Linked DNA regions of Homo sapiens: all the other regions are linked to region 2. Evidence: promoter capture Hi-C in 16 types of primary human blood cells and fetal thymus (Javierre and others, 2016). All regions are on one chromosome and are shown on one strand. The core of a region is centred on a gene start or on the middle of the fragment in contact, and the rest is flanking DNA. Distances in the headings are between cores, read along the strand shown. Region 1 has its middle 17 kb from the start of GNG2. Region 2 holds the start of PSMC6 (proteasome 26S subunit, ATPase 6). Region 3 overlaps RTRAF (RNA transcription, translation and transport factor). Region 4 has its middle 52 kb from the start of LINC02319.

Region 1 (7,690 bases), core at 1,519-4,018, 860 kb after region 2:
TGGCATTCGTCACCTCTCCTCTGTGCTGAGGGGAGAAGGCGACGCCCTGTGCCTCATGGTGGGGTCAGCTGCATGCTCACTCCCACCCTCCCAGTCTGCAGCCTGCCTGGGGATGCCAGTTCACAGGCCTGTCTTGATGCCAACGGGCGTTTGTTGTTGTTGTTGATTTCATAATGACCTCTGTCTAAAAATTCTGTAGGCTTCCAGGAAGGGACACAGCATACCGTGATAAAATGGATTTTTCCACCCCTCCCCCCCTCTGGTTACCATGGAAACTCTGAATGACTGATTTCCTGGTTGCCATGTAGATGCAGTGGGATCCCAGCCGCTGCACCACACAAAGACGTCAGTAAGAATAGCGAGAAAACAAAACAAAACCAAAAGAATCATGTTTGAAAAGACAAAGGATTGCATCTCAAGCTTTCTTCTCTCACACAAAAGTGGAGGGAAGGAAGCAATTGTAATTAGGAATGGTGCCCTTCCTGGAGTAGGGGTGCATGCACCTGTCCCACATGGGAGGGAAGACTGGAAAAAGGGGAAATCCCTTTTTTGTAGCCAGGGGTGTTGGCATGGTGACGGGCAGGCAGATGCCATTCTCAGGTGACTAGAGCCCTTCAGCACTCAGCCTGCGTTCCACCAAGGAAACCTGAAATATTCAGCTGGGTGGCAGAATTAAGTTAGGTAGAAAACAAAGCAAAAAACAGGTCGCACACACATTTTTTTAGAATGTTCTTCTTTTTATAGTTCTAAATTTTAGAATTAAGATTCCAAATGCTTGAATTTAATATGGGGTTGAGGTTGAATTTTTACTTCTATCCAACAACTTCAGAGAATTAACAACAAATTTAGCTGCTTTCCTGTCTTTTTAAAATTGATTTGTAACAGCCTGATAAAACCACATAAGAAAAATTGATTAATCCAGGTTTATATGGTTTTCATAACCTAGGTATTATCCATCTTTAGTAATATGTATGATGAGAACTTGTGTGTGAAAAAAATTGTATGTAAAAAATATTCTATATTACTCCAAATATATACAAAAACTAAAATGGTTGATAACTCACCTCCTTGATTTTTCATGATTATATCTGAGTCAAGTAGTTTAAAATTAATCTGTTTTTCCTTTTCCAATATCCACCTTTCTGCCTTTTGACAAATGGTTTATACATTTTAAAAACTGAATCTAGTAGGATTCACAGAGTTACTGGTGCTTTACTGTTAATTTTTGGCAGCTGAATCACAAGGTCATTTTGTAATACCTATCTTGTCAAAGGTGGAAGCTGCAATGAACTGGAGTGTCCCATGTTTTATAGATGCTGGAGCAGTGATGTCGAGACAAAACTCTGTGCCCGGGGGACTACAGAGCACAAAGAGGATGGATCCAGCCCTGTAACTACCATTTCTTAATATTATTTCCAGCATATACCACTGACTCATCACTCAGGCCAGCACGTCCCAAACTGGATCAATAGGTGGCACGCAGGGTAAAAAGTGCAGATGGGGAATTCAGAGCTCAAATCATTTTGCAAAATCTTAGGTTCAAGAACATTGACCAGGTTTATTTACCATGGGACTTCTCGGGGCTTTTGATATTCTGACATCTGGGATGACTCTCTGAGAGGGAGTTCTACAGAATAAGAATGGCATTTCCCAAACGTATTTGGCCACTGAGTACTGCCTTCACAGAATCTCTCGTAGTTCTTCAGAGCATACTTTGAGAAATGCTGGGCAAGATTGCCTCTAAGATCTAATTATAGTTTAAAGATCCATGGATATTTATTTATTTATTGAGACAGGTCTCACTGTCACCCAGGTTGGAGTGCAGTGGTATGATCTCAGCTCACTGCAGCCTTGACCTCCTGGGTTCAGTCAATCCTCCCACCTCAGCCTCCTGAGTAACTGGGACCACACAGATGCGCACCACCATGCCTGACTAATTTTGGTATTTTTTTGTAGATATAGGGCTTCGCCGTGTTGCTCGGGTTGGTCTCAAACTCCTGGGCTCAAGCAATCCACCTGCCTTGGTCTCCCAAAGTGCTGGCATGAGCCACTGCACCAGCCTTTATTTATGATTGAAAATTACCTATTTTTAAAAAGTGATTTGGCCCATATGATACACTAATTTAGCCCATAGAGAAACAGATTTTTAAGAGAGCCAAGAGAAAAAAAACAATTCACAATAAATTCAGTGTTTTTTATCTATTTTAAATCAAAGCAAGAGCACCAAGTTGTTTCAATAAAAATTGTGGCAGGAGGGCTGGGCATGGTGGCTAACGCCTGTAATCCCAGCACTTTGGGAGGCCGAGGTGGAAGGATCACGAGGTCAAGAGTTTGAGACCAGCCTGCCCAACATGGTGAAACCCCATCCCTACTAAAAATACAAAAAATTAGCTGGGCCTGGTGGCGTGCGCCTGTAATCCCAGCTACTCAGGAGGCTGAGGCAAGAGAATCACTTGAACCTGGGAGGCAGAGGTTGCAGTGAGCCAAGATCATGCCATTGCACTACAGCCTGGGTGACAGTGTGAGACTCTGCCTCAAAAAAAGAAATTGTGGCAGGAGGTAAAGAGGAACAGATACCAAGGCCATGGTGTGGTGCCTCCAGCTGGGAGTCAGCTGGAAACTATGGTAGGTTCTCCCGGGAAGGAACCACCAATGCTCAGGGGACCTTCTTGGAACTGAGTCCTCTTCCGTGGAGGTTTTGGGGCTTCCATCTGACCATATTAACTCTTTATATAACACTCCTCTCCACCCACACACACACACACAGGGCTGTCAACAACAGCAGAGTCACCAGCAACTTCAGCTCCACTGAAGCCAATGAAGAAAACAATGACTTAGAGAAACTCCTCCTCCTCTTCACTGTGACATCATGAGTCAGAAGGGGACAGTCTCAGACATAAGATCTGCCCCCTACCCAGCCTAGTCCAGCTTACCCTGGGGAGAGAGAGTTTGAACCATATATGAGATGGGAAACCAGACCAGATTGTTTTAATAAACACAAGTGACGACTTATGAGTTATGACAGAGAATCAAATATTGTTAAGGGGACTGGGTCCCTAGAGGGAAAGGAGAGCCAGTGACAGGAACACACAGCTGGTAGCAGCCATTTGCAAGATAAAACTGCTCCATGTTTCTGCCTCAACAAATTGAATGTCTTCAATCAAACTGGTTGAATATCTGGGACAGCCACGAGAACAAAGTAGGAAGGAGCAGAGCGAACTGAGAAGAGAACACACAGCCAGGAGATGCACAGAAAGGAGATACATTTCCTTTGCCTGAGTCACCAGAAGAGTCTTTAGAGCCACGGTGGAAACCAAGGTGGTGACCAAGGGGTGGGGAGGAGAAAGGGGGCCTTGCAGGCTGAGGCCACTGGCTGCTTGGAAGCATGAGTTGGGGCAGAGCATGGCTTATTCTGTGAGCCATGAATAGCTTGGCATAGTGGGACCAAAAGGCCAGGCTGTGTGGGTGGGGTGGACTGAAGAGGTGGGCTGGGGTTAATTGAGGAAATACCTTCCATGGCAATTCAATCAAAATGGAAACATGAGGAACCATTAAAACTGTTAGTCAAGAGGACTGATGTGACTGGGTTTGCATGTTGGAAAGACTGCCCCATAACAGTGTGGGATAGGCATTGAAAGAAAGTAGGGTTGAGGGCAGGAGCAGAGTGGACACACTCAAAATATTTGAGTTTTTTTTTTTTTTAACTTTAAGTTCTGGGATGCGTGTGCAGATCGTGCAGGTTACATAGGTATACATATGCCATGTGGTTTGCTGCACCCACCAACCTGTCATCCAGGTTTTAAGCCCTACATGCATCAAGTGTTTGTCCTAATGCTCTCCCTCCCCTCACCCCCGACAGGCCCCAGTGTGTGATGCTCCCATCCCTGTGTCCATGTGTTCTCATTGTTCTATATGAGGGGTTTCTATAGCAGTTGGCAGTCAGGTGTCTGGGTATGTCTGTGAGGAGGTAAGAGAGAGAGAAGAGCAAGAAAGAGGAGGTCAGCATTAATTCCAAGAGTAAGACAACCAAGTAGATGTTTGTGCCTTCATCCAGCCCTTCAACAAGTGTATATTTGCATTAATATAGAAGCATCATTTCTTCCCTCTCCCCTGAAGACCTTTCCTATGATTTACGGAAAGGAGAGCATTGATTAAAAACACCTGAAATAGTTCAGCTAATTATAACTTAATTGGGTTGTTAGTCTCTTCTGCGGTCTTTAGCTGCAACATCTCAGCCTGCTACCTTAGTGGCAACAAGATTAACAGCAGAGTTCTCCAGAGGGAGAAGAAAATTTTCCTTCAATTCTGGCAAATAGGCCAGGCGTGGTGGCTCACGCCTGTAATCCCAGCACTTCTGGAAACCGAGGCGGGCAGATCACTTGGGGTCAGGAGTTCGGGACCAGCCTAGACAACACGGCAAAACCCTATCTCTACTAAAAATACAAAAATTAGCTGGGTGTGGTGGTGTGTGCCTGTAATCCCAGCTACTGGTGAGGCTGAGGCACGAGAATTGCTTGAATCCAGCAGGTGGAGGTTGCAGTGAGCCGAGATTGTGCCACTGCACTCCAGCCTGGGCAACAGAGTGAGAATCTGTCTCAAAAAAAAAAAAAAAATTCTGGCAAATAACTGTACTCTGAAAAAGGGTCACACACAGGCCATTTGTGGTAACATAGGCCAACCAACCATCTTGTTAAATAAATTTTGAGCCCTGAGTAGGTCTGTGACCACTGGGGTGGGACCTCAGGAAAAGCTACTCTGGCACTGGGACAGTGGGTGTCCCAGCTGCTGAGCACTTCCGTTTGCGTGTGCGGAGCCCTGCGGCTGCTGCAAAAGAAATTCTGCCTGCCAGTCATAGGTTCCATTATTGCTGAGCACAACTTGGACAGCTCTACAGGCTGTAGAAAGAAGAAACAAATGAACTGTTCTGGTGAAGACCTGGGGAAGATGCTTCCTTGTTCTCTCTACAAAATAACATGTATTAAAATTGAATTTTTTAGAAAATGTATTTCAAGACATCAACGCCAGACTAAAAGATTCTAATTGTACCTTCTTGCATGAATCCCTATGTCTAGACTAGATATTATCAGGACAATAGTCTCATATCTGAATAAGCTTTTAGTGTTCTGGCTCTGAATAGGAGGATTTTTGAAGGATCTCAATTTTATTATGATTTAGGTCAGGATAGAGCAAATAAGCATGACATCATGGTAACCAACTAGGAGAGCTAAAAAGGAGGCCCTCTTGACAATAGGAAAATAACATACAGTGACTTAGAAACTTCATTAGACAGAATGTTCAGAGACCAGCCTGTATTCCTTGATGGGATTTTCTGGGTAGCTGTGTGTAAACAGTTAACTTATATTAAACATCTTTCTTAAATATATTAATAATATAATTTTCATGCAGTCTATTGGACACAATTTATTCTTCTTTCTTGATGGAGTCTGCATTGCCTGGAACTGTCATTAAGATCACAGTTGTCATCGTATGGCCCCAAAGAAAAGCATTTCCTTGTATCTATACCTACCTCTATATGCTGGAAGTCATGTCTATTTCACAATAATTTCCTATTTCCTACAAAGTGATTTTTCTCATCTGCCTCCATCCTACCCTTCCCTTTTCATGTGCCTTAATGTTTTGCTTGCTTGTTTTCTTTCCTTTTAATGGTTCTGTTGAAATATTACTGTGGACTTCAAAGCCAGATTACCTGGGTTCAAATCCGGGCTCCAACACTTAATTAGCTGTGTGACTTTTCTATGCTCTGGGATTCTTGTCTGTAAAATGGAGAGAAAAATAGTATCTACCTTAGAGGATTACAGTGAGGATTATATGAATTCATACAGAACAAACAGTGCCAGGCTTTTTGTTTGTTTGTTTGTTTGGTGCAGCCTCTAAACATAGGGTTCCCAAACCTGGTCAAATATTCAGAATCACCTGGGGAGAAATTTTAAAGTCTAGATTCCTGGACTCCCTGCCATAGATTCTAACTCAGTCAGTCTGGAGAGGGGCCTGTTGCAGCTGATTCACAGAGTAACATTTGGGAACCATTACTTAAAATGTGGGGGTCTCCTGTGGTGCTATCCTTGTTTTTCCCTCCTATTCTCTTGCATTTTCCTCCATTTGTAAGTTTGGAGTTTTCTTTGCCTGCCAGTTATGGACCTATGTATAAATAACTACCCATCTTCTTACTTGCTAAACTGACCAATCATAGTATTTTATTGATCTTGGGTTTCATATTATGCATTTGTGGTCACTCCTCCTGGTATGATTGTGACTTCTGCTCTCGGAAAAAAATTACCAGATATGTGAAGACTCCAATTAATCTAGATTCGCTGTGGTAAAAGGTAGTACATTGTTGTAGCATTATACATGAGGGACTGAACCTAGCTTTAGGGCTCAGGATATTGTAAGGTAGGAGAAGCTTCAGGGATTTGCTTATCTAACATAACTAACTGATATAAAAGAAAGAAGGGGGTTGTCTTCTGGCATATAAGAATAGCAGATGTGCTAAAAGGCAGTCATTTACAGAGCTCTGAAAGGTCTGGCTACTGTCCTGGTTGCTTGACCTATGGGCAGATTGACAGAAGTACATTCTTTCTCTCTTTATCCATTCACTGAGTCCAAAACCACCTTACACTCTACCTCAGGAAATATTTGGAGGCAACAGAATGAATGACAATCCAGGCACAAGGCTGAGAAGCAAAATTTAAGATGCAGAGAGTTTGAGATTGGGGCACCAGTGGAAGAGGGAGAACAGAAATGAGGTATTTACAGAGGAGAGAAGTCTGTCAGTAAACTGGGAACTGGGCAACTTTGGGGACTGCATCCAGAGTGGAGAACCAAGACTCTGCCCAATAAAGAGGGAGGAAGACAAATGGGCTCAAGGAGCTACTTTGGATTCTCTGTTGGTGGTAGATTTTGTGTGGAACATTTTATAGATGTCACAGGGGACATGATTGACAGAAAGATGCAACAGACACTGTACAGGAACATAAAGCTTCTTAATGATAAAATAAGGGATGAAGAAAGTTCTGGGAGTAAAGGAGAAGACAAAGTGTCATGCTCCCAGACCGAGGTACAGGCTTCCATATTCCCAGCTCCTACGATGACATCTAGCTACTGATGGAGCTACCCAGGTGGAGCAGTGATTTCACCAGACATGAGAAACTCACCTCTGCCATTCTTACAGGTACTCTTATACCTTCTGGAGTCCTTCACAGTACCCTGGTTGCCAGATGCAAGTAATTGATACAAAACTATAACACATTTCTAATGCTTATTGCAAGACAGTCAGTCAAAGACCAATTCCCCAGGAGCATCCTACAACTCGCTGAAGTTGCAAGACTGTTGGAGATCTACCCCTAGAGTTGTAATAACATGAAGTTAGACATGGTTCTGCATATATTCCAGGACTCCATATTTATATTGAATGACTAAAAGTAAAGCTGTTTAAAAAATTAAAAATGTTGTGGTACATCTTGCTCTTTTTCCATTTAAAAAAATTAAAGCATAATTTGCATATAGCAAAATTTACCCTTTTTAAAGTAGTTATGTGAGTTTGACAAACACACACAATCATGTAACCACCACCACGATCAAGATATAGAACAGCTGCATCACCCCTAAAATTCTCTCATACTCCTTTGCAGTTAACTCCTCCAACCCCTGGCGTCTGACAACCATTGATCTG
Region 2 (6,906 bases), core at 2,622-5,121:
AACACTTAAAAACGGAATAACACTCTAACGAGAGTTTAATATTTAGAAGCCAAACACTCATTTTTACCCTCCAGAGAGAACACAAATATCAGATTATAAACTCTATGCTAACAAAATGGCTTATAAAATAAGTAATTCAAAGTGATTTCCACCTGCTCCTTAAAAGCATGCCCCTTTGTGTAATCTCAGTGTAAAATGTGAAATGACTAACACACAAAGCTTGAGGCAGCAATGGTACAGTGACTTTGGGAATTGCTACCAAAGCATTTATAGAAAAATCCCTTAGTGAACATTTTAGGGAAAGGAAAGGGAAGCATTTTAAAGGTGTGCTCATCAGATTTATTTTGAAATGTACAGCTTCTGGGAAGAATGTGTTAAATGCTCATGAGAGTAGAGAAAAATGCACGGTTTCCCCTTAGAGATTTTTATTAAAATGCTTTAAATTTAAAGCCCCAAAACCCAGCAACCATCACTCATGCCTTTGCTACATGACAGGCACATGCTGAACACATTACACATTAGGTTGAATCATACTAAATAATTTCTTGGCTTATCTGGCTAAAATTAGAATCTACTAGATCTGCCTCACTCTCAGGATGTTGTTACTTTTCAAAGATAAAGTTACTTTTTTTTTTGAGATGGAGTACGGAGTCTCACTCTGTCGCCCAGGCTGGAGTGCAGTGGCGCCATCTTGGCTCACAGCAACCTCTGCCTCCCTGGTTTAGGCAATTCTCCTGCCTCAGCCTCAAGTAGCTGGGATTACAGGTGTGTGCCACCATGCCCGGCTAATTTTTTTTTGTATTTTTTAGTAAAGACGGGGTTTCACCATGTTGGTCAGGCTGGTCTTGATCTCCTGACCTCGTGATCTGCCCACCTCAGCCTCCCAAAGTGCTGGGATTACAGGCATGAGCCACCCCGCCCGACCCAAGTTACTTTTTAATAGTTTAAAAAACTGCGTGCCAATACAATTTCGGAATCATATAAATTACTGACCACTTGTCACAGGATTTTACAAAGAGCTTCAAATTTAGGAAGATAGGCAAAACACTAGGATTAATATAACAATTAAGGAAAAAACGGCTAAGAAGTGAGGTTACTTGAAAAAATAAGAGGAGAAATCAATATGAAGCTATTTCAATGTTTACATCTATAGGAAATACAGGCTGAGTATTCTTAATCTGAAAATCCAAAATGCTCCACAATGTGAAATTTTTTGAATGCTGACATGATGCTCAAAGAAAATGCTCATCGGAGCATTTCAAACTTTTGATTTTTTTTAATTAGGGATGCTCAACCAGTACAACACAAATATTCTAAAACCTGAAAAAAAAAAAGCCAAAATCTAAAACACATTTCTGGCTCAAGCATTTTGGATAAGGGATACTCAACTTATATATACTTCGGCTTTTCTAATGTTTTTTAGTCTTCAAATACAGTCTTGTCCTCATGCAACCTGAAATATCTTAGAAATGCCAACTTTCGGCATCCACAGAGCCCTGAAAGGGACATGAAAATCCCTTGTCAGTTTAGGTATCTAATATTTTGACTTAGAAAATGTCAACCGCTTATATACTAGGCAAAATCCTAATAGGAGATTTATAGTTCCTGGATTAAATTCTCCCTTACAGCCATGTTCTGTGAATGTTTTAAAACCTGAACCTGAAATGACAATTAAACAGAGAAAACTCTTCCAATGAATTTAAAAGAATTATCTAAGGACACTTCCTAAAGAATAATACATAAATTGATTTCAGACACTACTGAATGACTTGAGGTCATTTGTTGGCATCTTTGATAACTGTAAAATAAAATTTAGAATTATTTCAACTTGCCCTACCCTAATCTAAATGACCTCATACAAAATTAACTTAGGCCATGGTACAGTCCATAAGTAACAGTTCTGAATGTCTAAATATAAACACAGGTAACTGATGATATCTAACACTTTTAAGTCCTCTTTAAAAATGACATTAAAATAAAATGTCTGTTTTCCAGTTCTAAAATACTTTTATTTCTAAGTGGCTATTAACAGATCTGACTGAGACAATGTAATACAGTAGAAAGTACGGAATGCCAGGAGTCAAAGCCCATGGTTTGAATTCAGGCTTTGTTAATAACTAGCTATGTCTGAACAAATCATCCTTGTGAGTTATGGGCATAAATGCTCCACCTGCTTGCCTCAAGAATTAGAGACAATAACTTACATGAAACTGCTTTGTCAATCATCAGGCACTATACAAATATAAAGTATTACCTGTCGACGACAACCCACAACATATCTTGGTCCATTGGTAGCTTTAACAATGACTAGAAGAAAAAACATAAAAGAACTAATTGAAAAATAGAAAGTAAAAAAATACATACCCACGTTGACAGAGGGTTTAGTTGTATTTCTGTCCTCCAAGGAGACATTAGTTGAAGGAAAACTTAAGTCTATTCAAAAATACTCTCTCTCTCTGCATTATTGTCATTAAAATAATAAGCATTTCAAAAGTGAGAGAGAGGTGGACTGTTTCTTTACTAATTAATAAGCTAATTCATCACTCACATTTTTCTTCAGTTAACTGTTTAAGCACTTCACCCACGATCTAAGGAAGAAAATAAAAAGCATTACTTTTTGGCAACAGCTAAATAAAAAAGCAAATTACCATCACCCCCTATTCCCCAAACTCCATCACCTACCTGCCCAACACTCTGTAGGGCCTTCAGATCATTTTCAGACTTTTCATACTGCTTGGTAAGTTCTTTTAATTGTTCCCTTACTGAAATAATACAATTTGAACATTTTTAATTGAACAGTAATCTTAGTGTGTTTAAGTCGCTACGTCTCACTTTACTGTTTACGTAAGTCTACTTCACTTTACCTAAGTTTCACATCCACTGTTTCAAACCATAAAAGAAATAATGCTGTTTGTAATGAGTAGGTGGCATGTATAACAACAAAATGTTACAGAGAAAGCACCATACTTTTACTTTGTTGATCGGCAATACTTGTTTAAGCACATCTTAAGTTATAGTCTTAGAAGATATTGACACCCTGACACTTAGGATTTGCGACTACAAATCCGAATGATAATCACTTAGACCCTTCCTCACCTCTTCACCTACCCACGTGGATTGTTCTCTGACATTCTACCCTAAATAAAGTCAACAAATGCAGTTCTCCACAGAATCATGTAATTATGGTCCTCCATTTAATTAAACTACTCATGCTTTTCAATGAAAATGCACTGGAAAAAAAAGTTAAGCACTCAGGAGGTAAGGGAAATTTGTATGCCTGATACAGTACAACACGAAACACAAGACGATATGGGTTATTATGACAACTGGAACACTTCTCTCTTAAGCTCCGCGGCCGTCTTTCGACTCCAAGAACAAGCCGACTCCCTGAGTCTCATCTCTTGTTTGAGCTTACTTGACTCAAGCGCCTTCCCCTCTCCAAGTCCCGGGACTCCACCAAGACTGCCCTTCTTGCACCCTAACCTGGGAAACATCCTCGGCCCACTTCCCCACTCCTCCTCTACTTCTTTTTCATTTTCACCTCAAGGCCGCCGATGTTCTGTCACCCGGGCTGGACTGGGCCATTTCTACACCCGAAGGAGTGCTGCTCCACAAGCTCAGGGCCGGATGACAAAGCGCCTTGTCCCTGGCCCTAGGCCTGGTCATCTCTAAGGCTCGGTTGCCGGGCTCGGCGAAAGGCTTCTGCTTTGTCAGAGGCAGAAGCGAGTCGAGGCACTTGATTAAATGGAAAGAAAGGTGCACTCACACTCCTTAAGACGGCCGTCGATCTCCTTGTGTTCAAGCAACTTCTTGCGGTAGTCCTGAAGCGCCTTATCTCTAGGGTCCGCCATGATGAGAAGCCGTCTCTCATAGGGGATGCCGGGAATGGCCATGGCCGTCCGGGCGGGGGAAGGGGCGGGGCGAGGGGCGAAACCCTGCCTGGAGGGGTGGGTTCGCCCATGAGCCCTCCCCTTCCGGTTGGCCCCGTCTTTCTACTCCACTTCCACCTCTATGTCTCGGTTCACCTAGAGCGCCGGCATACACTGAAAGAGGCCTCCACCTATACCGTTTCTTGCAAGCCGAGATAGGTAAAGCAGGACTCAGTTATCCCGGTCTTCCCCTGAGAGGCCTCAGTATTAAGTCACTGCTGTCCCGGAAGTATAAAAGGCTCTGTAATAAACTGAGATGGAAGTGAAGTAGGAAATGTGTAATACCTCAAAGGAGTTCCGATGGCCTGTCGACACAACACAGATGGCCTTTGTTATAACACAGTACTGTCCAAGACCTCCACGTGCTGGAGAAGTAGACAGTTTTATTCATCCATTCAGTCAGTGAATGAGGTATTAAAGGTAGATCTGCTTATCATTTGATAGGAAATAATAATAAAAAAAACTTCAGAGTTTAACAAATACTGTGAAGGAATTAAAACACGGTGAGAAGTATGGTGGGAAGAATTAATCTAGAACAGATATCTGAGATGAGAAGGAGCCAGCCTTGCAACAACTGAAGAAAACCTAAACAAACAGTGCAAGTCCTGGAGTGGAGTGGGGTGGGGGTTGTGGGTAGAAAGCTTGACTCACTTCCAGGAACAGAAAGGAGGCCAATGAGACCAGTAGGGGGTGGGTTGTAGAGATGTGGGGTACAAGATAAAGATGCTGAAGTAGGCTGAGGCAGGAACTTTGAAGTCTGATAGAACCTTCAGATTTATGTATTTATTTATTTACTTTTGAGATGGAGTCTTGCTCCTGCCGCACAGGCTGGAGCGGTGACGCGATCTCAGCTCACTGCAACCTCCACCTCCCGGGTTCAAGCAATTCTCCTTCCTCAGCCTCCGGAGTAGCTGGCATTACAGGTGTGCGCCACCACAACCGGCTAATTTTTGTATTTTTAGTAGAGACGGGGTTTCGCCATGTTGGCCATGCTGGTCTCGAACTGCTGACTTCAGGTGATCCACCCTCCTCAGCCTCCCAAAGTGCTAGGATTACAGGTGTGAGGCACTGCGCCCGGCCAGATTTTTTTTTTTTTTTTTTTTTTTTTGAGTCTGTGTCTCACTCTGTCACCCAGGCTGCAGTGTAGTGGTGCGATCTTGGCTCACTGCAACCTCTGCCTCCCGGGTTCAAGCGATTGTCGTGCCTCACCCTCCTGAGAAGCTGGGATTACAGGCGCCCGCCACCACGCCCGGCTCATTTTTGTATTTTCAGTAGGAATGGGGTTTCACCATGTTGGCCAGGCTGGTCTCCAACTACTGACCTCAAGTGATCCGCCCGCCTCAGCCTCCCAAAGTGTTGGGATTACAGGCGTGAGCCACGACGCCTGGCCAACTTTCAGATTTTTGTGATTTGGGGAAAATTACATACTCCCTCAATATCTCTGTAAAATGATCATAATAATTGCACTTATCTAATGGGGTTGTCATGAGTATTAAATAGGATAATGTGCCTAAACACAACATCTGCCACATGGCATGTACTCAATAGTGTTCTTTTGAATAGATATTTATTTTAAGGGTAGTAATGACTCCAATTTTTGCATTACAGGTCCTCATTGCTATACCTCTTGCTATCATTGTTCCTGGGGACAATTAATTGTTGTCCAAAAAACATGAGTAAAATTCTCCAAATAGATTCCATTTGGTCTCACCTTATCCAATGGCCATGAATGTTTGAGTTTAAATATATACATCCTAAATATACAAATAAAGTACAAATTTTTGTAAATTAATGACCCAAAGTCACATAAAGGATGCCTTCAAATTTATTAGGAACAATTCTCATGGGTATTGTGTGAATATTCCATTCTATTTTTCTTTTTTTTTTTTTTTTTTTTTTTTTTTTTTGAGTTGGAGTCTTGCTCTGTCGCCAGGCTGGAGTGCAGTGGCGCGATCTCGGCTCACTGCAACCTCCACCTCCCGGGTTCAAGTGATTCTCCTGCCTCAGCCTCCCGAACAGCTGGGATTACAGGCGCACACCACCACGCCCAGCTAATTTTTGTATTTTTAGTAGAGACAGGGTTTCACCATGTTGGTCAGGCTGGTCTCGATCTCCTGACCTCGTGATCCGCCCGCCTCGGCCTCCCAAAGTGCTGGGATTACAGGCATGAGCCACCGCGTTCGGCCAATTTTTCTAAATGTGACTGGGTTCTTGCAGTATACAATGAACAAGGAAGCTGTATGGGGCAGGGATAGTCCCTTCTCCCACTCAGTTGCAACTACTCTGGTCAAACTAGTCCATCCATACCAAAACATGTCACCTCTGACATCAAGAAGTAAAGAAGAGAGGACAAGGCAGAGAAAGAAAGCTCAGTATGGCTCAATTTAAAATATTTATGAGCACATACTGATAGGTTATTTTAACATTAATCACATCAATATTTTAAAGTCCCTTAACCCTTGTTCTTTTTCTTTTACCCATCTGGCAGCATTTCAACTTCAGAAGAATCTTCTATTTTCCCCATGCCTACACTAGCCCTGTTACTTTTTTGTTTGTTTGTTTGTTTTTTGTTTTGAGCAGGAGTCTCGCTCTGTCGCCCAGGCTGGAGTGCAGTGGTGCGATCTCGGCTTGCTGCAACCTCCGCCTCCCGGGATCAAGGGATTCTCCTGCTTCAGCTTCCAGAGTAGCTGGGACTACAGGTATGCGCCACCACACCCGACTAATTTTTGTATTTTTGGTAGAGATGGGGTTTCACCATGTTGGTCAGGCTGGTCTTAAATTCCTGAGCTCAGGTGATCCACCCGCCTTAGCCTCCCAAAGTGCTGGGATTACAGGTGTGAGCCACCGCGCCTGGCCGTTACGTTTTTATACATGCCTATAAGACTGTATTCCTCTCCATCTGAAAACGTAGCTCAACTTGTAATTATATATTCTTAAACGTGATTAAATGTTTAGAGTCTTTTCTCTGCAGTGGACT
Region 3 (7,496 bases), core at 2,441-4,940, 700 kb after region 2:
GTTTCTGTGAGTCAGGAATCCAAGTGTGTCTTCACCGAGCTCCCTCAGGCATGGAGTCTCTCACAAGGCTGCAATCAGGTAATGGCCAAACTGCAGTGATCACAAGGCTCAGCTCGGGGAAGACACAGCCCAAGCATGCTCACATGGGCTACAGGCAAGACTAATGTCTCTGGCCAACAGCCCTCAAGGACATCAGTTCCTTGGCACATGTTCCCCTTTACAGGGTAGCTTGCAACATGGCATCCAGCTTCCCTCAAAGGGAGCAAGAGAGAGCCCCTAAGGCAGAAACCAGTTTTTTGAGACCGAATATCGGCAGTGATAGCCTATCACTTCTGCTATACTCTATGCACTAGAAGAAGCAAGACACTACTAATGCAGCCCAAACTCAAGGGGATTGCTTAAGGCTATAATACATGAGGAGATGGAGATCACTGGGGGCTGCTTAGATGCTGCCTACCACAGGCTACATGGCTATTCTTTTACAATCTTGATTTTTAACTTACAGCAACTTGTACTGGACAGACTGGAATAGAGAAGCTCCTAAAATTGAAACGTCATCTTTAGATGGAGAAAACAGAAGAATTCTGATCAATACAGACATTGGATTGCCCAATGGCTTAACCTTTGACCCTTTCTCTAAACTGCTCTGCTGGGCAGATGCAGGTAATACTACTGATGGAATGCAAATAGATAACCTCTCATCACAGTGAATGTGAGCACTAACAGATTTTACTACAAAATGAAATCCCATCACTTAGATCTCCTTTCTTTGGTCTGTAAACTTTTAAGTACTAGTAAATTTAAGTACTAGTAAATGAGTCTTAAAATGAACTTTCTGGGGTTTGGGTGGAGGGAAGGATATATCAAGCAGTAAGTTTGTACTGCTTGCCTGACCATGAGTGCCTGGCATATTTTTAACAGTTAAAAGAATTAGCCATTGTTGAATTGACAAACTTAAGTGAAGTTATTCTTATGCGGGGAGAGGGTCACTATAACTTACCTATAAACATCTGTTATAATGCTAAGGACATTCTTTGGAAAGCATTGTAGCAGGGTAGCTTCCTTCAGTAATAACATGGGTATTAGCAACCTACATTTGTTTGCTTTTATCAGCACAACTGAAAAAATGCTGTGTGTCTAGTTCTATACTAAAGAATATGAAAAAGACTGTTCTTGAATTTGTAATCTAATAAAAGGGCCTAATGTACATAGGTCACTTTTATAACCCAGTTGTTTAAAACAAGTTACATTTCTTAAAAGGATTTGAAATTTAAATCGGCTCCATGAGAAATGTGAAACTTGGAAATTCTTGAATGGTTTAGCTATTGTAAAAATTTTTAAGACTGATTCCTTTACATTGAAATATGAGTTATGTTACCATTTTAGTCACTTTTTTCCTCCTACCTAGAAAATATTTTAAAAATACTAAGGATTTTGGTTAAAAGGTTGCCTCAGTAATTATAGACATAGCTTACAAAGGGCAAGTATTTACCCAGATGTTATAATTTATAAGCTAAGGCTTGAAATCACACAAATTATAAAAATAATTATGTTTAATGCCCTACTTTGGCAGAAACTTACCAGATTTCAGTAAATGCAATCCTGTCTTCCAAAAAAGGATTGAAAGTTTGAATCTCTACTAAAAACTGGAGACTAGTAATAGGACAGGTAATTTTACAGTTGCTAATCTATGACTGTAATGGAAGTAAAATATCCTATTTCCCCATTCTATCACTGTGTCACTATCACTATGTCACTATCATTTTTGGCAAAGCAGCTGAAGGACCTCATTTTCCCCCTTTGTTTTAAAAGGAACCAAAAAACTGGAGTGTACACTACCTGATGGAACTGGACGGCGTGTCATTCAAAACAACCTCAAGTACCCCTTCAGCATCGTAAGCTATGCAGATCACTTCTACCACACAGACTGGAGGAGGTGAGCCCCACAAATTCTGGACAAGCCTGAAAAGGCCAACTGTTCCAGAGGACACACCACTTGTTTTACCAAAAGTCAGTACCTGACTTGACTCATTAAGCCCTCTGAGGCTTTTGTTTCATCACCTCCTCATTGGCAGATAAGATCCTTCAAGGATGTTTTTCATCCTTTCATGTTTTTGAAATCATCCTTTTACTTCACCCAGAAATCGAATGGTATTGCTCACATATAGCTTAAAAAGTAGCAAAGCTATTGGATAATGTCTCAAAAGGGAGCATATTAATCTAAATATGTTCTTTAGAGAATAAGACTACCCTTGATACCATGAGCTATATTACAGGGCTTAAGTTGGCTTTTGACACTGTGGACATATTGTCTGAGGGACCGAAAAATACTATTTAGACTAGTTCTCAAATGAGGAACTGTGGAACATTAAAGTCTAAGCCCTTTACACCATGCCCTACAACTCTGATTTGATAGCTCATCATGTGATTCTAACATGCAGCTAGAGATGAGCAATGGATTTAGAGCAATGGTCTTCAAACTTCAGTATGGCTTTAGCACCAGCCCTGGGACAGAGAAGGCTGCCAGAAATTTTCCTCTATTGCAACTGATTTTCTGTGGCTGACTGACTTCTTTATCTAGTAAATGACTGTCCCTGAATTCACTCTTCCTTTCTGTTACCAGGGATGGTGTTGTATCAGTAAATAAACATAGTGGCCAGTTTACTGATGAGTATCTCCCAGAACAACGATCTCACCTCTACGGGATAACTGCAGTCTACCCCTACTGCCCAACAGGTAAAAAGTATGCTTTAGGATGCTCCTTTAAATTAGCAGGGTAGAGAAGGGATATATATGGTATTTGATTACCCCTGCTGCCTGTGACACTGCCACCATTGCCTTCTTCCTGCCCTGAGGGCCAGTCTTTACTACCTTAAATCTACCTAGTTTATACACAAAATGCAAAGACTTGCTGTTGCAACTTGGTTACAATATACTCACCCACCACCCTGTCCCACCCCTGCTCTTCTCTCACAGGAAGAAAGTAAGTACAGTAATGTAAAGGAAGACTTGGAGTTTACAATCAGAACCTGGACCCTAAAGAACAGTGACTGCAAAGGCAAAGAAAGTAAAAAAGGAATTGGCCATTAGACGTTCCTGAGCATCCAAGATGAACATTTTGTAGTGCAAAAAGACTTTTGTGAAAAGCTGATACCTCAATCTTTACTACTGTATTTTTAAAAATGAAGGTTGTTATTGCAAGTTTAAAAAGGTAACAGAATTTTAACTGTTGCTTATTAAAGCAACTTCTTGTAAACATTTATCATTAATATTTAAAAGATCAAATTCATTCAACTAAGAATTAGAGTTTAAGACTCTAAACCTGATTTTTGCCATGGATTCCTTCTGGCCAAGAAATTAAAGCACATGTGATCAATATAACAATATAATCCTAAACCTTGACAGTTGGAGAAGCCAATGCAGAACTGATGGGAAAGGACCAATTATTTATAGTTTCCCAACAAAAGTTCTAAGATTTTTTACCTCTGCATCAGTGCATTTCTATTTATATCAAAAGGTGCTAAAATGATTCAATTTGCATTTTCTGATCCTGTAGTGCCTCTATAGAAGTACCCACAGAAAGTAAAGTATCACATTTATAAATACCAAAGATGTAACAATTTTAAAATTTTCTAGATTACTCCAATAAAGTGTTTTAAGTTTTCCTATGACTTAAGGATCTATATTGTCTCTAGGACAAAGCTGGGGGTTGGCATATATGCCTTAACCACAAAGGAGAAAGGTGATTTATGCAAACATACAGTACATAATAAAAATTCTACTTTCCTAAACTTTATTAAAGAAAAAAGCAATAAGCAATGGTGGTAAATCTCTAGAACATACCCAATTTTCTGGGCTTCCTCCCCCGAGAATGTGACATTTTGATTTCCAAACATGCCAGAAGTGTATGGTTCCCAACTGTACTAAGTAGGTGAGAAGCTGAAGTCCTCAAGTGTTCATCTTCCAACTTTTCCCAGTCTGTGGTCTGTCTTTGGATCAGCAATAATTGCCTGAACAGCTACTATGGCTTCGTTGATTTTTGTCTGTAGCTCTCTGAGCTCCTCTATGTGCAGCAATCGCAGAATTTGAGCAGCTTCATTAAGAACTGCATCTGTTTTATGAGAAAAGAACACTGCTTCAATACATAATTTTTACATTTAAGGCCATTTATTTCCTCCCAAGTATTCAGTCTGTAAAAAAAATAGTTTGAATTTAAACAAAATCACTTACCTCCTGTGTCAAAACCAAGAATATGTTTGTCTAAAGCAACAGGTAAGCCCTTTAAAAAAAGAAAGACAAAATGAGAGTATTTATGGTTAAGAATAGCATCCTTTCCTCAACTGAAACTGAAAAGCACCTAGCTATTCTGGTGTCTTAACTCTTTTAGCTGCATGGGCAAGGGAACTAGGAATTTTGTTTATATTTGCTTTGTGATGATTGTGATTAGCGAGTTTTCCCTATTTCAACCGGTTAGGGGGAAAAGTTAACCTTTAAATGTACCAGGAAGCTCTATAGCTCATCCAATCCTTTAGCCCAGGCATACAAAACAATATATCCTTATTGCAGCAGTGCCTTGTCATTACTGCTATGGAAGGCAAGTTGAGCCAGGCTGTTACTGTCTTATTTTGGCGACAGTAAGCAACAGTATAAACGGCAAAAATAGTACCTTATATTCCATTTCTGAGCACATTAATTTGTCTTTACAAATTGTACGAACCTTTCAGCCAGCATGGTGTTTGCCAAGATTATGTATAATTATGTATAATTTAACTTTCAAGACTTGACTTGGAAGTTACTTTGAAACAAACAGTCTAGGAAAATGAAAAACTAAACCACTCAGCACCTATGGACATACTAAAGATGGTGACTATGGTGATGCCAAACTTCACAGAAACAAATTCTAAAATGAGGACAGTCTGTACTTCCTGCTGATTATATAAAATCACTGCCAAGAAAAACACACTACCCGTACTTTCAATCTTTCAATGTTACAACCTGTTACTATTCAAATGCTTTAGTCACTGCTCAATTCTTGCCTTATCTAGTAATGTAAATCTACGTAGGCTCTGTCTGCTTTAAAACAGCTAACACATGTAAGTCTGAAGAAACCAATGGGTACGAAAGCACAAGTGAGCAAAATTAAAGAGCAGAATTGTACTGAGTGGCTTTATATGTTCATCTAGTACCAGAGGCTCCACTTTTTTTTCCTTTGCCAACAGGCCACCAAGCTACCCCTGAAAACTACCATATGCCTCAAATAGTAGTTATAAATGCTTATAAGTACACTAGACTGTAAGAACTCCACTAAATTGTTATAGGCTGGTATCTTTTGAGATGACACCAAAATTAAAATTGGGAGCATTAAAAATAAAACTAAATTTTACTTTACAAACAAGAGCAAAGAGATTTGGCTAAGCCTTTACTTACACTGCCTTCCAAAGCATAGTTTTGCTGAAGGAATGAATGAATGAATGATTGACTTTATTACACCAGAACAATTTACTGTCTGTTCTATAGGGAGGGTGAAATAAGCTGATCTTTAACCCAACTTCCAGTGGCTCGATTCATATACAACGAGCCAGTAAGAACCTTTAAAAGAAAACAGTGTCTTTCAGAGATACTGCCCTGGCATTAGTAACCTTTTAACACTGCTTGGCCTGCCTAAAGGGGCTGGAGGACAAAAGGCATTGGGAGATGGGGGAAGGGCGCAGGGAGGACAAACAACATAGTTGTGCCCAAGGCATTCACTACAACATCATTGCTGCAGGAGGCAGGTGTTATCAGACACTGCTGCTGCTGACCTGAGGACAGTCTCTCCACCGCTGCACAGCCAGTGAAACTTTAGGCATCTTTGGATTTCTGATATAATCTAAAAATGTTCCATATTTTCTCTTTAAGGGGAAGGTAGTCATGGGATATAGCTTTTCTCAGCCTACAAGGTAGGACTGAAAGATACCATTTCAGTCACCTGTACCTTGAACCTTACACTCCAACAGAACCCCCTGTCCCTTCACCTGGGCAGACTGACAAGCTCATGCAGACATCCACGCATGGACCCTTCTCCCCACCTACCGTAAGAGCACAGGCTCTCAAGTCAGACTGCCTGAGCTCAGTCACTTACCAACTAGGTGACCTTAGCCAAATTACTTTCTCATGTTTTATGCCAGGAAATTGAATAAAACAAGAATTTACTCTGAAGAAATAAGAGCAAGGATAGAATTTAGATAGAAAAAGAAAACTAATTTGTAGTGAGGTGTGTTCCTTCTTCTCCAGCATGAGTCAAAATAATCCAGTAAGTTTCATATGGGTAACTCATTTTAAATAAACTTCAACGGGCCACAAGCATGATTTGTGGACTGTGCATGAGCTATTTGTGGCTTTTTTAAGGTACAAAGTGAGAGGAACATGAAGTTTTTCACTCAAAAATGACCCCCTAGCCACTGAATACATTCAATTTGCTTTAGGAAGCACTGAAGTAAGCTATCCTTTCTCTAAGTTGTAGAACGTAGAATGGATATCTTAAACAGATACATGCAAAGTTTAAAATCACGGCCATACCAGAAGAAATGTTCATTAACAACTTATTTAGGATTTATAGAAACGTACCTCTTTTGTTTGATTTGCCTTAGCAACTGCATCCTGTGTCAGGCGCTCCTGAACCAAAATCCGAATTGCCTAAGAAACCCAAAAATATTTTTACTTTTTATAGGCTGTGTACCTGTCATCCTTTCTTCTATGAGCCCAGAGAATAAGGATGCTCATTTTGATGAAGTCAGAATTACCTAAGTTCATTAATAAACTCCCCATTAAATTAAAAATAAAAAAAACCCACTAATATAACGTAACCTTTCACACTTCTAGTATTTTAATAATGTTGAATGGTGCTTGCAACAATTAAAACCATTTTTTGAATAGGTAATGCACGTGACTGGTAAAAAACAACTTTAAATACAGCAAGACACATGGTAAAAAGTAGGTCTCCTTCCTACCTGAGCCTTGCGATCCCCTACAGATTCCTTACCCTCACTAAAACTGCGAAATGACGAGCATGCTTAGCACGAATACACATTTTTGACACAAAGGGTAGCAGATCATACATACTGTCTTACACTTTGCTTTTATCACTTCACTCTAGTAAAATATTTTCAAACCTTTCAAAGGACACCGTTGGTGGTTTTAATCACCAAGGCATTTCATTATGGTAGGCATGCATGCAAGTATCCATACACACTTAAAAATCAAATTTTAAAAAAATGGAATTTTAATTAGGAAGATGACAATTACAACTCAAAAATAAGTGTGAAAACTTAAACTATAATTTTTAAATAAAAAACCAAATGCTATCTTTGAAAAACCGAATTCAAACAATGTTTAACAGTTATTGCAGATGTTATTAAATAGTCTGGTTGCCAAACAGTTAATATACTGATGCTTGTACTTGGCAAACGTACTAAGATGTTTTCCATATTATGTTATTGTTTGAATGCCTCTTAAAA
Region 4 (7,419 bases), core at 2,813-5,312, 530 kb after region 2:
GCCCAAAGCTTGGCAGCTTCCACATGGTATTGAACCTGTGGGTGCGTGGAAGTCAAAAATTGAGGTTTAGTAACCTCTGCCTAGACTTCAGAGGATGTATGGAAATGCCTGGATGTCCAGGCAGAAGTTTGCTGCGGGGGCAGAGCCCTCATGGAGAACCTCTGTTAGGGCAATGCAGAAGGGAAATGTGGGGTTGGAGCCCCCACACAGAGTCCCCACTGGGGCACTGCCTAGTGGAGCTGTGAGAAGAGGGCCACCATCCTTCAGACCCCAGAATGGTAGATCCACTGATAACTTGCACCATGAACCTGGAAGAGCTGCAGACACTTAACATGGGAAAGCAGCCAGGAGTGGGGGGTGTACCCTGCAAAGCCACAGAGGTGGAGCTGCCCAAGGCCATGGTAGCCCACTTCTTGCATCAGCGTGACCTGGATTTGAGACATGGAGTCAAAAGAGATCATTTTGAAGCTTTACAATTTGAGTGCCCCGCTGGATTTCAGACTTGCATAAGGCACTTCATTTTGCCCAATTTCTCCCATTTGGAATGGCTGTGTTTACCCAATGCTTGTACCACTCCATTGTATCTAGGAAGTAACTAACATGTTTTCGATTTTAGAGGCTCATAGGTGGAAGGGACTTGTCTTGTCTCAGATGAGACTTTGGACTATGGACTTTTGAGTTAATGCTGAAATGAGTTAAGACTTTGGGGGACTGTTGGGAAGGCATGACTGGTTTTGAAATGTGAGGACATGAGATTTGGAGGGGCCAGGGGCAGATTAATATGGTTTAGCTCTGTGTCCCCACCCCAATCTCACCTTGAATTGTAATAATCCCCATATGTCATAGGAGGGACCTGGTGGGAGGTAATTGAATCTGGGGGTGGGCTTTTTCTATGCTGTTCTCATGATAGTGAATGCATCTCATGAGATTTGATGATTTTATAAAGGGGAGTTCTCCTGCACATACCCACTTGCCTGCTGCCATGTAAGACATAATTTTGCTCTTCATTCACTATAGTAGTCTGTTTTCATGCTGCTGATAAAGACATATCTGAGACAGGGAAGAAAAAGAGGTTTAATTGGACTTACAGTTCCACATGGCTGGGAAGGCCTCAGAATCATGGCGGGAGATGAAAGACACTTCTTACATGGCAGCAGCAAGATAAAATGAGGAAGAAGTAGAAGTAGAAACCCCTAATAAACCCATCAGATCTCGTGAGACTTATTCACTATCATGAGAATGACACAGGAAAGGCTGGCCCCCATGATTCAATTACCTGCTCCGGGTCCCTCCCACAACACGTGGGAATTCTTGGAGATACAATTCAAGTTGAGATTTGGGTGGATACACAGCAAAACCATATCATTCACCTTCCAGCATGATTGTGGGGCCTCCCCAGCCATGTGGAACTGTTCCCGGACCAAACTGAGGGTCAGGCTGCTTATTCTCATGGCCCAATAATGAGATGCTGATGAAAGGGGAAAGGGCAGAGTTTTTATTTCTGTAACAGGTTACAGGGAGAAGGCCCAGAAAATATCACCAGACCAACTCAAAATTAGTTTTCCAGAGATTATATACCTTCTAAGCTTTATGTCTACATGTAAGTGTGCATTCATCTGAAGACATAGTGATTAACTTCTTTTAATCTATAACTAAGATCTGAGTCCCGAAGACTTTCCTCTGGAGCCTCAGTAAATTTACTTAATCTAAATGGGTCCAGGTGCTGGGGTGATTACCCTTATCTTGTCTCCTGCTAAATCATGGAGGTTTGGGGAGTTCCTTCAGACCCGCAATAAACTTGTTTGCAGAGGCCTGGGAAGTGTCTTCAGACCCCCAATAAAACTTGTTTAATCCTAAACAGGTCCTGTTAAGAATTCCTTTGTTATCTTATCATGCTTTAAGGCAGAGGAAAGGCCTAGGCAAAACTCTTGGTGGGCTTTTTGTTACATTCTAGCCTTTGTATAAGGACACTGGCTCTTTTAGCTTTTAATATTTAACTTAACAACTCAGTCAGTACTGAAACAGTTGTTACGGTGGCTTGCATTAATGAGACCTGGCTTGCCACAGAACTGTGAGTCCATTAAATCTCTTACCTTTACAAATTACACAGTCTCGGATATGTCTTTATTAGCAGTGTGAGAATAGACCAATGCACTACCAATCCAATCTAACCCCAAACGTGAGCGAAGAAAGCTAAGCAGATTTGTGATGTAGGGACATAGTTCCTTGTCAGGGCCAATATTTATGTCAAGGCTATTTAATTTTTAGTCCTTCTTTCCATATGGAGCATGCACATTCAGACCTGATTTTGTAGGGCCTAACGCTTAAATAACTTTGTGTCCTTCATTGAGAAAACATATTTAAAAAATATAAAATTAGGTACAGAGATTTGAAAGGTGCTTGTGTAAATAAGGGGCTCTAAGGCTTTAGTTTCATTAGGGTCACAGTAAATACACCTCTGGAAGACTGAAAACAGATCACATGCTCCAGATGGTGTCTTAAAATTTTCCTGATGGCCAGGTGTGGTGGCTCATGCCTGTAATCCCAGCACTTTGGGAGGCCAGGGTGGGAGGATTGCTTGAGCCCAGGAGTTCAAAACCAGCCTGGGCAATATAGTGAAATCCTGTCTCAACAAAAAAGCTAAAAAATTAGCCCAGCATGGTGGCGCATCCCTGTGGTCTCAGCTGCATGAGGTGCTAGAGTAGAAGGATCACTTGAGCCCAGGAGATCGAGGCTGTGGTATGCCATAATCGTGTCTCTCCACTCTGGTCTGGGCAACAGAGTGAGGACCTGTCTCGAAAAAAATAAAATAAAATAAAGCTTCCTGATAAGACTTACTTTTCTGCCAGATAGTTATTAAATATATCTCACATTATTAAGTATCTCATACTCTTTTTTTTCTCTCTCTCAGCTACTGTCAGTTTGATTAAGCTGATCTTTTTAAAAATCAAATAGGAATACACCCAGAGCTTTTATATTCTGACTATATGCAGAAAAATATCTTGAGCCAAGTTCTCTCTGGTCTTTCTAATCTATAAATTTTTTTGTTAAACATGTTTAGGAACTTCATAGCTATGCTAGTAAAAGGGTGAGGAGTTGGGGATTAATTCTAAGCCTGAAGAAGAGCCACTGGGGAGTGAGAGGACCTGATTGCTGTCTAGCCACCTGATATTGCCTTATTCATGGTTGAAGTTGGTTCCCAGCCATCTAGCCAGGGAATTAGCCTGGACAAAAGTGGTGGGCACATACCTGGATATCTCATTTACCAGTTCATGTTGTCACTGGCTCCCTTCTCTTTGGCCTAAAACTGAGATGAAGAGCCGGAAGGCATTGCCTCTTGGTTATGAAGACCTCCTACCTGTACTGCCCCAGAGCTTCACTAAAAAGAAGCTCCAATTGGGCTCACAGAAGTGACAAAACATATATTGTGGGGGTCATTAGTAACGTTAACTCATTTCGAACTGCTCATGGGCAGAGCCATGACTTTCCTAATACACACACCAGTGCCTGAGCCCATGTCTCCATAAGCATTTGTTCTTCGTTTGATAAACAAATGGATAGATGTATTTTAGGGCAAGATATTCATTCATTTAACAGATATTTACTGGGTACCTAATATCTGCCTGGCACCATTCTACATGCTGTGATAGAGAACTGAACAAAATAGACAAGTCTGCCCATGAAGATTACATTCTAGTGAGACGTGGTGTGTCATGACTTTTTCATAGTCCTGGGTATTCCAGGTTGTGGTGGTGGTGATGGGGGTGCTGCTGCTGCTGCTGCTGGTGGTTGTGTGTGTGTGCTTGTATTTCTTGGGGAACAGGGGTTTATAGAGGAGAAAGTAGTGGAGATTAATGTAAAAAATTGACTTTTAGAGAAGCTAATAATAGTCAGCTGAAAGCAGCAGGGCATGCTGTATATACTTTCAGCCCTGCATGCTCTGATTGTAGAACAGAGGGAGCACTAGAGTCTGGAGTACCATAGAGTACTCCACAGAGCCAGCATTCAGGTGGCCTTGAGGACAGCATTTTCAGTGTCAGGTGAAGGTCTAGCCTGAACAGAACCTGAATTCCCTTTTATCAGCTAGGGCTCTTAGATGCTAGTCATGAACAAGAACCCGGCAGGGTGCAGTGGCTCATGCCTGTAATCCCAGCACTTTAGGAGGCTGAAGTGGGAGAATCACTTGAGCCCAGGAGTTCAAGGCTATAGTGAGCTCTGATTGCACCTCTGCTCTCCAGCCTGAGTGACACAGTGAGATCCTATTTCTTAAAACAAAACAAAACAACAACAACAAAATAAGAACCTTCTATAGCTAATTAGAGCAGAAAGAATGTTTACTAAAGGATATTTGGTATCTTAAAGAAACTCCAGGAGAGCCAGAGAAACAGTGATGGAGACTGTACACCAAGAACTATGCCAAAATTGCCTACAGGACTGCTCCATGGAGGCCAGAGGGCAGCATTGGATACAGATCCTGCAGCTCACACTGCTGACACAGGAATCCGGACACCACCAAGACTGGTAGCTCAATGTCTCACCCCTACCCTTGCCACAACTGAGTTTCCAAAACTTTTTTAAAGTTCCAGAATAACACAGAATAGAAAAGAATTATCACAGACCACGCTTCCATATAACCACCACCCAGGTCAAGAACCCTCCCATGCCCAGTTCCCACCCCTATTCCTGTCTCTCCTCAATGGCAGAATAGCTCTTCCTGTCATTCTTTTCTGAGTAGAAAATCTTGTATCTGATTGGAGCAGCCTGGGAAGGTGAGTTTCTGGCATTTACTCCATAGAGATGAAGATTTAAAATAATTCCTCAAGGATAGGAAGGGTTTTCACAGGTTTTGAACAGCTTTACAGTATCACAAACTGTTACCATGTTCCCCAATGGGTAAATAAACATCTCAACCTCGTTAGGTTGAACCAGGTGTAATTTTAATTTTTGTAGGTTAAAAGTGGCTGAGTATCAGCAGTTTCCTGTGGTTTAACCTAATAGAAAAGAGTGTCAGTTAAAGCACAGGAAATGGAAAAGCATCTGAAAGAGATGAATAAGGAAGTGCTCAGGAAAGGCGAGAATGCTTGAAGCCAGCATCAGTTAGTAATGTGAGGCTTTGAACCTGTAAGTTACCTAGTTTATTACCTCCAGCATCTCTCGTTGCTATATGAGAAGTTTGTGGAACTAAGACAAGTGGTCTCTGTGTGTATGTGTTTGTTGCTTAGTAGTGAGCACTGCAAGGCAAGGAACACTGGGGGGAATTTAAAGCAACTGGCTGTGAAACCTCAAGACAGGAAGGAAGCTTCGCAGCTTGGTAGGTGCCAGTAGAGAATTGTCCAAGCAAGACAGAGCTACAGCCTTGTTTGCGTCCTGTTCTGAAGGCAGCGGGGTGGGTTGTACTACATTTTATAACACTTCTAAGTGGCTGTGGTTAAAATACACATCCTTAATGCAAGAAAATCATCAGGTGGCACAAAGACAGGCTATAATTTCATTCAGGTCAACATTGCTTAATAGAGGAAAAATAGAAATGACCTAGATGTTCAATTACGAGAGATTTTTAATATAAGTTATTTATCCATGTAATAGAATGCTAAAGAGTACCTAAAATAGTATTGTAGAAAATTATTTAATGACAAATTAAGCTGTTCAGGAAGCAGTAGTCTAATGATTAAAAGTATAGACTCCAGAGCCAAAATGCTTTGTTTGAGTCCTGGCTCTACTTACTAGCTGAGCTAAGGTGGGCAAGTTCCTCACTTGAGGTGTTAGAAGAGTTATTATAGGTAAAGCATGCAAAAGAGTTTCTGGAACATAAGAGGCACTGTGTATGTGTCAACTATTATGATGATTATTGTTGTTGACTGAATGTTTGTGTTCCCCCAAATTCATATATTGAAATCCTCAATGTGATGGTAGTAAGAGGTAACTAGGTCATAGGTAATTACCTCTGGGAGGTAATTAGGTCGTAAGGATGGAGCCCTCGTGAATAGGACTTGTGCCCCTAGAAGATGAGACAGAAGAGCTTGTTTTTCTCTGCCATGTGAGGATACAACCAGAAGATGACCTTCTGCAAATCAGGAAGCAGGCTCTCTCCAGACACCACATCTGCCAGTACCTTGAGCTTGAACTTCCAAGCCTCCAGAACTGTGAGAAATGAATGTTTATGGTTTAAGCCACTCAGTCTATGGTACATTTGTTATAGGAAGCCAAACTGACTAAGACAATCATATTCTTAAGGAAACCAACAAGGTTTAAAAACATAGTATATACTAATTAATCATGTGTATTTACTTTTGCTCCCTTATGAAATCTCACTAAAAAGTCTGGGCATGGTTGCTCATACCTGTAATCTCAGCACTTTGGGACTCTAAGGTGGGCGGATCACGTGAGGTCAGGAGTTCAAGACCAGCCTGGCCAACATGGTGTAACCCCGTCTCTACTAAAAATACAAAAATTAGCCACACATAGTGGTGCACACCCGTAGTCCCAGCTACTCAGGAGGCTGAGGCAGGAGAATAGCTTAAACCCAGGAGGCAGAGGTTGCAGTGAGCTGAGATCATGCCACCGCACTCCAGCCTGGGTGACAGAGCAAGACTCCATCTCAAAAACAAACAAACAAAAATCTCACTAAAAGAACAGTAAAGGAATTGAGAAATTAAAGTCCATGAAGACAGAAGGAAAATGGAGATGCAGCACATACATGTTTTGGCCAAATGCTAAATGGGTGAATGTTAAAATCAATGTTTGTCCAAAACCAAGGCTAACACCAAATAGCACCATCATTTGATTAAATTTCTGAGATATGAGAATAAGTGTAAAGTTTCAGTTAATATTTCAATTTTCAATTTTATTATGAAAAATTTTAGTAGTCAAATATTTGAAATTTGACATTGTTGAGCAGAAACCCAATTTTCTCAGCACTGTCAGCTGTGGAATGCTCCAAGGGTCACTATATTGCACATTGGCAATACTAAAGGCATTGCTGGTTTTAACTGAGGTGAGTAGAGTGGAAGATTTTTTTTTGTTGTTGTAGAGACAGAGTCTCACTCTGTCACCCTGGCTGGAGGGCAGTGGTGTGATCTCGGCTCACTGCAAGCTCCGCCTCCTGGGTTCACACCATTCTCCTGCCTCAGCCTCTCCAGTAGCTGGGACTACAGGCACCCGCCACCACACCTGGCTAATTTTTTGTATTTTTAATAGAGACGGGGTTACACCATGTTAGCCAGGGTGGTCTTGATCTCCTGACCTCATGATCCACCCACCTTGGCCTCCCAAAGTGCTGGGATTACAGGTGTGAGCCACCGTGCCTGGCCAAGTGGAAGATTTTAGTAGTAGTAGTAGTAGTAGTAGTAGTAGTAGTAGTAGTAGTAGAAGCATTTTGGCTAGCTCTGCCAGTGTGGGATAATTACTGATTGTAATGTT

What was found. Contacts are between HindIII fragments. The CHiCAGO score rates a contact against its expected background, and 5 or more counts as called.
Region 1: a contact is called between a fragment that was not itself captured here and the fragment with the promoter of PSMC6 in region 2, in 1 of 17 cell types (total B cells). The highest score is 5.1, in total B cells.
Region 3: a contact is called between a fragment that was not itself captured here and the fragment with the promoter of PSMC6 in region 2, in 2 of 17 cell types (naive CD4 T cells and neutrophils). The highest score is 5.9, in naive CD4 T cells.
Region 4: a contact is called between a fragment that was not itself captured here and the fragment with the promoter of PSMC6 in region 2, in 1 of 17 cell types (total B cells). The highest score is 5.2, in total B cells.

What each region holds. Positions count from the first base shown.
Region 1 is chr14:51,839,590-51,847,279 of GRCh38, reverse strand. It overlaps a transcript of GNG2 not described here. Among named protein-coding and RNA genes, the nearest start is that of GNG2, 17 kb to the left of the region's middle. RefSeq lists enhancers at 70-169, 2,704-2,803, 2,824-2,913, 2,954-3,093. The HindIII fragment of the contact is 4,692 bases long and covers 423-5,114 here.
Region 2 is chr14:52,704,165-52,711,070 of GRCh38, reverse strand. PSMC6 (proteasome 26S subunit, ATPase 6) reads right to left here and starts at 3,871. Exons shown (of 14, transcript NM_002806.5): 1 at 3,767-3,871; 2 at 2,683-2,762; 3 at 2,549-2,588; 4 at 2,255-2,307. The coding sequence starts at 3,851. RefSeq lists enhancers at 3,511-3,560, 3,581-3,830, 4,131-4,190, 4,211-4,320. The HindIII fragment of the contact is 4,351 bases long and covers 222-4,572 here.
Region 3 is chr14:52,000,977-52,008,472 of GRCh38, reverse strand. It overlaps RTRAF (RNA transcription, translation and transport factor), which reads right to left. Exons shown (of 8, transcript NM_016039.3): 6 at 6,607-6,675; 7 at 4,231-4,279; 8 at 1-4,111. The coding sequence ends at 3,957. NID2 (nidogen 2) reads left to right here. Exons shown (of 22, transcript NM_007361.4): 19 at 506-663; 20 at 1,813-1,936; 21 at 2,624-2,736; 22 at 2,977-3,664. The coding sequence ends at 2,987. Among named protein-coding and RNA genes, the nearest start is that of RTRAF, 15 kb to the right of the region's middle. The HindIII fragment of the contact is 8,552 bases long and covers 1-7,496 here.
Region 4 is chr14:52,173,989-52,181,407 of GRCh38, reverse strand. No RefSeq gene overlaps it. Among named protein-coding and RNA genes, the nearest start is that of LINC02319, 52 kb to the right of the region's middle. The HindIII fragment of the contact is 2,479 bases long and covers 2,823-5,301 here.